2 separate regions of the Homo sapiens genome follow, and region 1 is linked to region 2. Evidence: promoter capture Hi-C in 16 types of primary human blood cells and fetal thymus (Javierre and others, 2016). All regions are on one chromosome and are shown on one strand. The core of a region is centred on a gene start or on the middle of the fragment in contact, and the rest is flanking DNA. Distances in the headings are between cores, read along the strand shown. Region 1 has its middle 6.8 kb from the start of ROBO3. Region 2 holds the start of NRGN (neurogranin).

The links. The method cuts DNA at HindIII sites, captures the fragments that hold promoters and counts their contacts. A CHiCAGO score of 5 or more calls a contact.
Region 1: a contact is called between a fragment that was not itself captured here and the fragment with the promoter of NRGN in region 2, in 2 of 17 cell types (naive CD8 T cells and naive CD4 T cells). The highest score is 6.0, in naive CD8 T cells.

The regions. Positions count from the first base shown.
Region 1 is chr11:124,855,492-124,861,837 of GRCh38, forward strand. No RefSeq gene overlaps it. Among named protein-coding and RNA genes, the nearest start is that of ROBO3, 6.8 kb to the right of the region's middle. The HindIII fragment of the contact is 1,449 bases long and covers 4,155-5,603 here.
Region 2 is chr11:124,736,149-124,742,604 of GRCh38, forward strand. NRGN (neurogranin) reads left to right here and starts at 3,794. Exons shown (of 4, transcript NM_006176.3): 1 at 3,794-3,951. The coding sequence starts at 3,937. RefSeq lists silencers at 3,493-3,552, 3,613-3,932. The HindIII fragment of the contact is 6,441 bases long and covers 1,112-6,456 here.

The sequences.
Region 1 (6,346 bases), core at 3,629-6,128, 120 kb after region 2:
AATATATATTTTACATGGTTATGGAGCCTGGGAAGTCAGATTCAAGGTGCCAGCAGATTCAGTGGTGAAGACGTGCTTCCTGGTCCATAGACGCTGTATTCTCCATGTGCCCTCATGTGGTAGAAGAGGTGAGAGAGCTCTCTGGGGCCTCTTTTATAAGGGCACTAATCCCATATATGAGGGCTCCACCCCCATGACCTAATCAACCCCCAAAGGCCACATCTCCAAATACCATCACTTTGGGGGTTAGGAGTTCAACATCTGAATTTTTAGGAGACACTGACATCCAGTCTGTAACACTAGTTGGTCTTACTCCACTTTACCATTGGTCACTCCCTCCTCCTTCACTTGCTTTCTCCTTCTTCACTGAGTTTCCAGGATACCACACTCTCCCAGATTTTATTTTATTTCTCTGGTCCCTTCTTAGTCGTCTTTATTCTTCCTCCTCAACTCCCTAAATTCAAAATGTTTTGGTACCCAAAGGCCCAGTCCTTGGACCTGTCGATTTTTAAAATTTCCTTTGATGATCTTATCTAGTTCTGTGGTTTCATATGTCATTTATATGATGAGGATGCTCCAATTTATATACCTGTAGCCAAGACTACTCCCTGGAACTTCAGACATCTCTAACTTAACATGTCCCCAACCGAGTTCCTAATATTACCCATTGAATCTACAACGCCTTTAGCTTTCTCCATCTCACTAAAATTTTGTCAATTCTATTTTCAAAATATATCCAGAATCCAGGTACTTCTCATTTCTACAGGTGCCACCCTGATCTGAAACACCACCATCACTTACGTGTGTATTGCAAAAGCTTGCCAAAGCTTCCCAGCTGCTTCCCCTGCTTCCTCCCTTCAGGTTTCTCTTCAGTCTGTTCTTAGCACAGCAGCCAGAGAAACTCTATTAAAATAAGTGAAGTTATGTCACTGTTCCACTCAAATCTCCCTCCACGGAATCCCATCTCACCCAAAATAAGCTAGAGTTATTATTATGTCATACAAGGTCCTACGTAATTACCCCAGTCTTGATGTCTCTCTTATTCACCCTACTCCACCTGTTTTTTTTTTCCTTCAACTCACTTGTTATGCTCCTGTCTCAGGGCCTTTGCGTTGGCTATTTCATCTATCTGGGACAACTCTTTCTTAAGGTAGCCACGTGGCTAATTCTCTCACTTCCTTAAAGGCTTTATTCAAATGTCATTTTTTCAATGAGGCCTCTTCTGGGAACCCCATTTCAATGTTAGTTTCTCGTGCCACTACCATATACTTCTCATCACAATTTAACTTATTATATATTTAAGTTGTTTATCTTTATTATTGCCTGCTAAATTATAGCACCATTAGAATGTAAGCTCTATGAGGGAATTTTTGTTTATTTTGATAACTGATGTATTCCCAGCGCCTTAAAAGAGTGCTTGGTACAGAGTAGATGTTCAACAAATAACTTTTTTTTTTTTTTTTTTTTTTTTTTTTTTTTTTATTGAGACGGAGTGTCTCTCTGTTGCCCAGTCTAGAGTGCAGTGGCGCGATGTCGGCTCACTGCAAACTCCGCCTCCCGGGTTCACGCCATTCTCCAGCCTCAGCCTCCGGAGTAGCGGGGACTACAGGTGCCCGCCACCATGCCTGGCTTATTTTTTGTATTTTTAGTAGAGATGGGGTTTCACCGTGATGGCCCAGGATGGTGTCGATCTCCTAACCTCGTGATCCACCCGCCTCAGCCTCCCAAAGTGCTGGGGTTACAGGCGTGAGCCACTGCGCCCAGCAACTTGTTCTTTTATTTATTTATTTATTTTTGAGACTGAGTCTCTCTCTGTTGCCCAGGCTTCAGTTCAGTGGGGGCGATCTTGGCTCACTGCAACCTTTGCCTCCTGGGTTCAAGCGATTCTCCTGCCTCAGCCTCCCGAGTAGCTGGGATTACAAGCATGCGCCACCATGCCCAGCTAATTTTTTGTATTTTTAGTAGAGACGGGATTTCACCATGCTGGCCTGGCTGGTCTCGAACTCCTGACCTCGTGATCTGCCCGCCTCGACCTCCCAAAGTGTTAGGATTACAGGTGTGAGCCACAATGCCCAGCCTATAATTTGTTCTTGAAAGAAAGAATCAATATTGTAAACATGTCAAATTTCTTAATCTGTGAATTCAATGTAACTCAATAAAAATATCAAAAATAGGCCAGCATGGTGGCTCATGCCTGTAATTCCAGCATTTTGGGAGACCAAGGTGGGAGAATCACCTGAGGTTGGAAGTTTGAGACCAGCCCAGCCAACATGGTGAAACTCTGTGTCTACTAAAAATACAAAAATTAGCCGGCTGTCATGGCAGGCACCTATAATCCCAGCTACTCGGGAGGCTGAGGCAGGAGAATTGCTTGAGCCCGGGAGGTGGAATTTGCAGTGAGCCAAGATTGGGCCACTGCACTCCAGCCTGGTGACAGAGCAAGACTCTGTCTCAAAAAAAAAAAAAAAAAAAAAAAAAATATATATATATATATATATATATATATATACATATTTTTTATATATATATATATTTCCTATAGCTTTGCTTATTATTATTATTATTAAAATTTTACCTTGCAGCTCCAGCTCAAAGGACCTAAAGCTTAATAGAAAAATAATTAAGGACATCTGAAAAAAAAATAAGACTAGCCAAAGAACATCTAAACATTAAGAGTAATGAAGGGAAACTATCAGATAGTAAACTATGTTACAGAGCTATAATAATTGAACAGTTAAGTACAGTCACGGGGAATAACATGCAGATGAACTAACAGAACAGATTCCTATTCACATTTAGGAATATGAATAGGAATTCAGCATATAGGAGAAGTGGTTCTGCAGATCAGTGAAGGAATCAGGGACAACTGCTTATCTAAGAAACAACTATATTTTTACCTTACTCTTCATACCAGAATAAATTCTAAATGCATCCAAGATCTGTATGCAAAATATCAAAGCTTAGAAATTATTAGAAGAAAGTAAAGATTCTATTTTTGTAATCTTAGCATAAGGAAAGTCTAAGCATGAAACAAACTGAAAAGCTATATTGAAATACATTAATACATTTGACTTTGTTTTCTAAAATCTGGTAAAATATTTTTCAGTCAAAAATTATATGACAAACTGAGGGGAATTTTCAACATATACACATGAGACAAATAATAAATTTTCCCCAGTGACACAAGAGAGCAAATCGTGGAAAAAATGTGTAAGTGGCCATTAAACAGATGAAAATGTTCTCAAGTTCACTCAGAATTAACTATATATGTTACAGTAATTAAATACATATTTCATTTATTTAATTGTAAAAAATAAAAACATAATATTTGGTCATGGTGAGCAGACAGAGACTCTCATACACTGCTGTGGGACTGTCAATTGTGGCACCATTTGAAGGGCAATTTGATGATATATATGAAAATTTAAATGCGGCCGGGCTCGGTGGCTCATGCCTGTAATCCCAGCACTTTGGGAGGCCAAGGGAGGCGGATCACTTGAGGTCAGGAGTTTGAGACCAGCCTGGCCAACATGGTGAAATACCATCTCTACTAAAAATACAAAAATTAGCCGGGCATCAGGGCATACTCCTGTAATCCCAGCTGCTCAAAAGGCTGAAGCAGAAGAATCGCCTGAATCTGGGAGGCAGAGGTTGCAGTCAGTCGAGATTGAGCCACTGCAGCCTGGGCAACAGAGTGAGACTCCACCTCAAAAAAAAATGTATATATATATATATAAATGCACATACTTCTTGCTATGTAACTTTAAGCAGTTACTTAAGTAAAGTTACTTTACTTGCTGTGCTTTCTTAGGCATAATTTTCTTATCTGAAAACTGGAAATAATAGTACCCACCTCGCAGCGTTCCTATGAGCATTACATGAGATTATGCCTGCAAAGTGCTCAGATTTTTCTCATTCCTGGTAGCTTGCACATCCAGAACTATGTCTGGCCCACAGTGGGTACCTGGTGAACATCTGCTGAATGAAGAAATTAATAAAACCACTCAATAAACATTAGCTGTTGTTAGTTATTATTTGCCTCTATAATTTCACTTTTTACAATTTATTCTACAGCTAGAGATGTGTGTAAAGATATAGGTGTAGTATGTTTATTAGTAGCATTGTTTGTAAAACAAAAAGCCAGAAACAACCTAAGCTTCCATAAATAGGGGACTGATTACAAATGTACAATAAACCTATGCAATGGAATATTAGCCAGCCAGTAAAGTAAAAAAGATGGAGATACATGAACTGATAGAAAGAGATGCCCTAAAAATATCGATGGGTTAAAAAAGGCAAGTTGCAGAACAGTACAAATAATCTGAGACAAAGGTCTCACTGTGTTGCCCAGGCTGGTCCTGAACTCCTGGGCTTAAGTGATTCTCCTGCCTCAGCCTCTCAAGTAGCTGGAACTACAAGCCTGTGCCACTATGCCTGGCTAATTTGTACTTTAAAAGAATAGAGAGGATGGGCACAGTGGCTCGTGCCTATAATTTCAGCACTTTGGGAGGCCAAGGCAGGTGGATTGTCTGAGCTGAGGAGCTCAAGACCAGCCTGGGCAACATGGCAAAACCCCGTGTCTACCAAAAAAATTTTAAAAAAATTAGCCGGGTGTGGTGGTGCACGCCTATGGTGCCAGCTATTCGGGAGGCTGAGGTGGGAGGATCGCTTGCACCTGGGAAGTGGAGGTTGCAGTTAGTGGAGATTGTGCCACTGCACTCCAGCCTGGGTGACGGAGTGAGACCTTGTCTCAAAAAATATATTAATAAATAAAATAAAAGGAATAGAGATACATATGCTTATATATGCTTTTTAAAAAGAATCAGAAAGGACACACAAGAAACCACGGGTAGCTACCCAGGCAACTGGATCTGTAGGATAAAGAAGGACTTGATGGAGTGAGGACTTAGACTTTTCATCTTACACTTTCTTATACTGCTTGAATATGTTTGCCTGAACATGCATTATGATTATCATTACAAGAATATTTTAAAAACTCAAATAATAGGGCCCTGGGGGAGTATCAGGAATATGGAGAGAGCAGAAGAGGAAGGAAATACAGGAAAATAAGGTATACTAAGTTAAATGTGTTGTCCCCCCTAAAAAAGTCCTACTCACCCAAAACTTCAGAATGTGACTTCATTTGAAAATGAGGGTTTTTGCAGATGTAATTAGTTAGGGTGAAGTCATGCTGGATTAAATTGGACTCTAATCCAATGACTGGTGGCCTTATAAGAAGAGGTAAGAGACACCGAGACACACACCCAGGGAAGGCCATAAGAAGACAGAGGCAGAGATGGAGTGATGAATCCTCAAGACCAGGAAGGCCAAGCACTGCTGGTAATCAGCAGATGCTGGAGGAGGCAAGAACAGATCCCTCCCTGGAGCCTTCAGGGAGAGCATGGCCCAGCTGACACCTTGATTTCAGGCTTCTAACCTGTGAGAGGATACATTTCTGTTGTTTTAGGCCACCTAGTTTTTGGTACTTTCTTACAGCAGCTGTAATGCAAAAGGAGAGAGAGAGAAGGCTAGTGGGCTCTGCAGGGGTAGTTGTGAGGACTAACTATTTAATCAGGTATAGTCACCAAGTGTATATTTATGGAAGCTTGCTCTGTATCTAGTTTTATAAAAAGAACCAAGAAAGCTCTTTTTCTCCCTGGACTTTGTTTTATCTGTATTGGGATGTGAACATTTCTGCCCAGTTGTCTCCAGATTTCCAGTCTTGGTAGAGTGTGTTGCAAAGTGTCTCCCCACAGTCTCCTCCACTGGAACCCTGTGGGGAAAGGGGGACTTTCATGCAGGGGGCCTTGGCTTATTATCTCAGCAGCTATAGGGGTTGAGCCAACACACTCTGGCTCCTGCCGGGGGCAGGCTCCTGCTGTCTGCTTTCCAGCTGGGTGCCTGCTCTTTGCTCTCTGATTCCCCCTCCTGTTTGGTTCTCTGGCCCCTGCTGGCTGGGTCGCTGCCCCCTGGCATCATCACTCTGAAGCCAGCAGCCCTGCTGGGCCATTCACAGGCATACCCTAGTGGGGGTAAGGGGCAGATGTTATTTCTTTGTCCCCCTCCCAGCAAACACACACACACACACACACACACACACACACACACAATCTCACACTCAATATGTATTAATGTCCTGGGAAGGGGTCCAGGCAGAGAGTGATGGCAGGCTACAGGCTCTGGGGGGATGCAAATGGACCGGACAGTGTGTGTGTACATTGGGGGGAGGCAGTGGTAGTAATGGGGGGTTGTCTTCAGACTGCACTCCTGGGCAATTACATGCCAGCAGCTTCATCCACTACCAGCCGGCATGCAGGCTTTAGACCACCAAGAAGCCTCCCCATAT
Region 2 (6,456 bases), core at 2,544-5,043:
CTGCACTCCAACCTGGGTGACAGAGTGTGACTCTGTCTCAAAAAGAAAGAAAGAAAAAGAAAGAAAGAAAGAAAGAAAGAGTAATACCTCCTCACACTGTTCTCGAGAGCACCACTTTAAATAATGGATGTGGTAGCACTTTGTAAAGTGCTATTCAGATTTAGCCTAGAACTCACTCTAGAATATTGGTTATTTCCCCATCTTAGCAAATATATTATACCGAGCCTTCCGTATTGCCTCTCTAGCAGCACCCTGAACATAGCAGAAGTTCAAGAAATATTTACTCCTCTTGATAATGCTGGTAACAATCATGATGCTGACAATGACAGAACAAAATGACTACTGGTGAAAATGACTCAACGGTCACCTAATGTCCAGCAAACCTGATTTCTACCTTTGAATGGACCCCTTAAGCCATGTGCTTTCTCCCCCTCTCCTTCCTGACATGTGGGGTGAGGGTGGGAAGAGGCCTCCAGCCTGGCAGAGGCCCCTTTAAAAATGTACCCGGGCTCCTCCTCTGCCAACCAGGTTGCTAAAAATACTACAACAGCAAAAGCTGAAATATTTGCAGAGAAAACTGAATTTCCTGCTACCTCCACCCCCTCCACTCAAATGGGTAAAATCCTGACCTAAGAAGCCCCCAGATCAGCTCCACCAAAGACACAGGCCTCATACTTTCTAGCCCCCTTCTGATTATGGGTCCCTCCACGGGCTTGAGCCAGGATGTGAAGTTCAGAAGGTGCCCACTCCGAGAAGGGGAAGCCACAAGTTATTGGGAAATAGATTGTCACGTGCCTTGGCTTTTCTGCCTGCTTACTAGGACCAACCCTCTCCAAATCCCCTTCCATCTGTCCCAAGAAGAATCTGTATTGGACCACAGGAGCTTCCCACTAATCCATCTTTTATCCTCTCTTTTGTCTATCCCTCACCTGCCTTGGCTTCTATTCCTCACCCCTGTCATCTCCATGCTTCCTGCTGGCTCCATCCCACGGCACCCACCAACATGCCCCAGTTGCCTCCCTAACCTGGCCATTCCCTTCCAGAGCTCATCTCCTTTCCAGGCCAGCAGTTTTCCTTCAGTAGCTATGGGGGCTGGAGACTGTAGATGAGAAGCTTTAAAATTTGAAAAGTCAAGAACAACTACGAGTCCAAGCCCATCTGGACAGTAGGTCATACTCCAAATGTTGACCGGTGGCACCCAGGCCCTAGGCCAGGCAGGTTACCATGGGGAGTATAACTTGGCATCATTCTGCCAAAGACCAGAGCCTGCAGAGGCAGACCCAGCCATCCCTTACTGCATCTGTCCTTTGTCCTAGCTCACCTATTTGAGTATCACAGGCTGAGTCCCACCAGCCCACCTTGCTGACAAACCCCAGCCACCTAGAGGCTCAGAAGAGGGACCTTTCCCCAGCGCTAGTGGGTGCCTTGGCCCCACAGTGGTTAAGGGGCCCACGCTGAGCATGTCTTTGGATGTCAGTGGGTGACAACCCGTGCAGGGTGTGTGTCTCTGGGTGTGTGGGCAGTGTGTGTGTCTGCATCTTTGGGTCTGTGTGTGTAATTTCTATGAGGCCATATGTGTTACTGCTCCTGCCACTGGTATTTGAGTTTGTGAGTGTCTGTCTTCTCATCTCAGGCTCTGCCTTCCTCTCTGTCTTTTCCTCACCTCAGAGCCTGCCCATCCCCCAGGGCCAGCACTGTGGCCAGTTCTGCGTAGGCGCCTTGAGTGGGCTGTTGCTGAAATGGTTGCTTTGCGGATGGAACTGACAGTTGCCGTATCTGTTCTCCTATGGGCCCTCCAGTGTTCAGAGACACCCTCACCCCACACAAAGGTGTCCTTCAGGAAGAGGGAAGGGCTGTGCTGCCTGTGTGGGAGTTGGTGGGGGGGGTGTTGTAAAGATACCCCCCCTTCAGTTCTGACCAGCAGGAAGAAGGGCCCAGAGGCAGCGCAGTCTGCAGAGGGATGTTGCCTAGCAACTTGGGAGACTTGACTGCAAACTCACCAAATCCCGAATTCCTCAGCTCTAATTTGGGAAGAGAAAAGCACAGAGTCTAGGCCTGGTATCCACTCTGTCCCCCAATTTCCCCCTTTCCTCTCCTCTCTGGATTCTGGAGTTGAAGTCCAGCAGGAATTGGCACAACAGAAGGCCACAGATGTGCGTGTCATTTAGGCAAGGGCCTGAGTTCCCAGGACATCTGGCCACTTGGAGGAGGTGGGGAGATGAAAGATGTGCCAGAGACAGATTGGGGAACAGATTTTTTTTTACAAAAGTGGGTGGGTCCCAAACATGCTGGGAGAGACACCCCTACACCCCAAGCCCTGGAATCCCGGCCAGCATCCAGCTCAGCCTGGGACCCCAAGCTGGCTAACCTTATCCCCACCCTGAATGGACTCAGGCATTTCTCTCCCACTCATTTTTCCTTTGGCAAGCAGAGCCTCGGGCCCAAACATCTAGGTGGAAAGGAAGCATGTCACCGCCACGTGGTCCCTGGTCATGGCCAGGGACTGGGGATGCACAGCAGAGCTGTCTCAGGATCTGCTGTCCCAACCAGAGCCACAGGGCATTTCCCACCTTTGCTCCCAGCAGGAGCCATCCTTTCCTCCTTCCCTTCTCTGGGACCTTAGCTGAGAAGACTTTCTAGTTTTCTCAGAGAAGGCCTACCCTACCCACATAACAAGCCACACTGCCAGCTTTTGTACCCTGCCGAGTTGGGGGAGGCTGACGACCACAACAGTGGCAGTCTGTCCCTCCCAGATGCTCTTTCCATAGCTCCCCTTCCCAGCCTCTCACGAAGCCCACATCCTGCCTCATCATGGACCCAAGAGCCAATTACTTCGAATTCTCTACACTTGGGTTTAGGGTATTTTTCTTCTTCTCAGGAGCAAGGGCGAGGATGGCCAGCTTTTGTCTTATTCTGAGGCAGCAGATCAAAAGGTTAGGCAGAGTCTGGTATGAAAGGGAGGAGGATACTTCTTCCAAGTCTGTGCCCATATATAAATACATACAAAATAGGTGTTGTGCATATATGATGTTGTTTGTTGCAGCTCATGTAGACAGATCGATAATAGATACGTCATGCCGACAGCTTGAGTTGGGTGACTGTCCGTGTGCGTGCGTGAGCGCGCGGGCGCCCGCAACAGGGTGTCCGCATTTACCTGCAACTGAAGGGCTGCGTAGTTATTTTTGCAGGTTGTATCTGCAGTGTCTGTATGCTGGAAGAAGGCCTGGGAAAATCATATGTGGACATGTGGGGCTTGTGAGCTTTTGTGTGGACGCATGCCCATCGCCAGGTTGTACCAACAGGTTTCTCCGTCTGTAGCAGGAGTGATGATGAGACCTTTTTACCGCCCGTTAGGGAGCCTTTCTTTGCGGACTGAGGGGGAGTGAAGTGAAAGGGAGCCATATTTGGGACTCCTGCTAGGTTGTGGAAGTATGGAGGGATGGGTGAGGGGTGCGTGGTTTTCTCTGAGCGGGAGTAGGTGCTGTGCCCAGATGTGGGTGTTTGTGCTCGGGGTGTCGGGGGCCTCCTTCTGCCTACTCCGGCGTACATCTGCCTGGCAGTCTGCCGCCTAGCAAGCCAGGGGATTGCGCCCGGGAGGATGGAGTGTGTAGGAGGCTTGGATACAAGCGTGTAGGCGGAGGGGCTGGGGCAGGAGCGGGAGCGCGGCGCAGAGAGCCGCGAGAGGGCGTGGCCCTCCCTCCACTTCTCCCCGCCCACCCTGCCGGAGGCTGCTCCTGATTGGCTTCCCGGCCGCGGGGCTCAGGTTACATTCGCGAGCGGAGCCGAGCGCGGGAGACCGGACCCGAGAGCAGAGCTGCTGTTTCGGCGCGGGTCGGCTGGCGGCCGACTGCCCCAGAGCCCCCACCCGGCACCACACAGACCCCACCCCCGCCCTGCGCCAGCCTTCGTCCCCGCAGAGGACCCCCCGACACCAGCATGGACTGCTGCACCGTAAGTTAGAGGGCCCGGGGGAGGGGCACTTGGCGGGGTCCGCTGCGAGAGGCGCCTGAGAAAGCCCTGGAGGGCGAGAGAGGGATGGAAGTGGATGCGGAAGACCTAGGAGCAGAAAGAAAAGGGGTCCTTGCCGAGACGTGGGTGGTGGATGGTGGAAGGCGCCCGCCCGACTTGGAAGCCCTAGGAAAAATGCTCCTCAACTCGCGGGGGCGTCTGAGCGCCCATCCGTTAGACAGCCTAGGCTGGACTGGGAGCTCGGCAGGGCTCTGCAAGAGGGGAACTGCGGGTTGGATGACAGGAGGAACTTCCTCCCCAGTGAGACGCTGGCAACCATCGCCTGGAGACACTGCAGCGACTCCTTCCTCCCGTCTTTCGGCCCCCACCCCGTTCCCCATCCCACTGCGCCGCCGTCGGTGGGCGGACAGGCTGATCCTCATGACCCTCCAACGATCGCCTAAGCGCCCTGTGCAGCGCAGGCTGGTCCATATTGGTTAGCTCGGTAGTGATGCTGGCTGCAAAGAGCCTAGTCAGGGTGGTTCTGGGGAGGGGTTGTCCCGGCCCCCAAGGCCTTCTCGCTCGGAAGGGGCTGGGTGAAGTGACCGCGAGAGAGCCCTGCTGGCGAGGAAAGGAAGTGTCTGCAATTTGTCAGCGCCCACGCGGAAACCTGGGTACTGCAAGTGCCCAGCGCCCGAGGGGTTTGCTGTAAAGGTGACTCGGTATGAAAGCGCCTGGCATAGGCCCTGGCTCCTGCCTCACTGGAAGAGTACAGTGATCATACGTATATGAAATTTATTTGTTTGCTTATTTATTTTTTGCCTCTGCACTTGGAGAAAGACTATTCCAAAGTCCTTGTATTTTCAGTCATTCAGTCAACCAGCTAATGATACACGAGGTTACTGACTTTGCCACCTTATGGCATAGTAAAGAAAAAAAAAGTGGGCTTTGGAAGGGAAGGATAGCCCAGTTCTATAATAGGTGAGACTTTCCCATGTCTGGGTACCAAGAGGCAGAGAACACTTAGGGGCAAGTGGTGGTGGTTGCGATTTTAACTCTTATTAGTTTAAGTAATAGTTGCCAGTTTGTGAATGCCTGCCCTGTAGCCAGCACTTTATATTTAATCATAGCAACAACCCTGTGAAGTAGGTATTATTTCACAGATGTGCCAACTGAGGTTTAGAAAGTTAGATTTTTCCAAGGAAGCATGACTCCTAACTGTGGAGGCAGGATTCAAACATAGCCCTGTCTTCTTCGAAGAGCTGTGGTTTAACCTCTCCTCTAAATATTTACTGATTATAAAAGTAATCTGCTCATAATAGAAAACGTAAAACCTAGAGAAAAGTATGAAAAACAAACATGTCAGTCACCTACAGTCCCACCCCCTGGAGAACACCCCGATAACATATCTCCTTCCAGCCTTTTCCCTCTGCTTGTTATTCTACAGGAAGCAATTTTTTGGTTGTGAAGGGAGAAATGGGCTCCTCATGGAGGTTCCTGGGCTCCACTGAGGAAGAGCCCTTCCTCCCAGCAGTGTTGTATAAAGTAGAGAAGATAAATGGATGGTGGGTTCTGGGAAATGAGCTGGGGGGAGGGGAGAGGTGAGGATGACAGGGGAGTATTGCTGGGGAAGGGGAAGTGGGAGACGTGGTCACTGGAAAGAGGTGAGTAAACAAAGAATCCAAGAGGCCAGGGAAGGAATGGAATTGGTCTCCTCTGTGTCTGCAGTAGTAATTAGAGTAGGATGTGGGGGTCCCTGCCTGGAACTGTTGCTCTTGAGTGCCCAGGGAGCCATACTGAGGGATTAGTAGACATGGTTGAAGTCAGTGTCCCTTAAAAAAGGAGAGGCTACCCACCCAAAAGGTAAAAGAGAAGCAGATACACAATTATCTCCATGGCCCAGGGCCTGGGGCACCTCCTCCAGTGCACCCTGTGCACAGGAGCCTTCCCAAGTCATGCCCTGTCCTAGGTCTGCAGGGCTAAAGGGCTGAGCAAGAGAGAGCACCATTATCAGACTGTGCAGGAGGGCAGGAAGAAGAAGGAGTGATGTGTGGAGGGTTGGGGAAGGGCAGGGCTAGGGGTGGGCATTTTCCTCCCCTTTCTGTGGAGGGCTGGACTCAGTGCTGGGAGAGAGCTGAGATGTGTGGGAAGAACAGCATACCTCTTGGGGGCTAGAGGCAGGTCCTTCTTCATCTTTTGATTCTGGAGCTCTCCTCACTGACCGCATCACCTGGTGTTTGGGAAGAATCTAGTCCTGTCTTATTCCCGTTTCTCCTTGGTACAGAGGCTCAGATAGAAATGAGGAAGAAGAAAACAGATCTGCCTATTTTTTTAAGAGACAGAGGAATGGTTTTTTATTCATGCTGATTCAAATATTGCAGTTGCTGATTTACATAGCCATATATATATATGACTTTTCCTGCATTCACCGCGCATGAAAAAGCGCATGAATTTTTTTGGATCCTCATTTCTTTTGCTTAGTCTAGTTGGCTTGGCCCTGCTGAATTC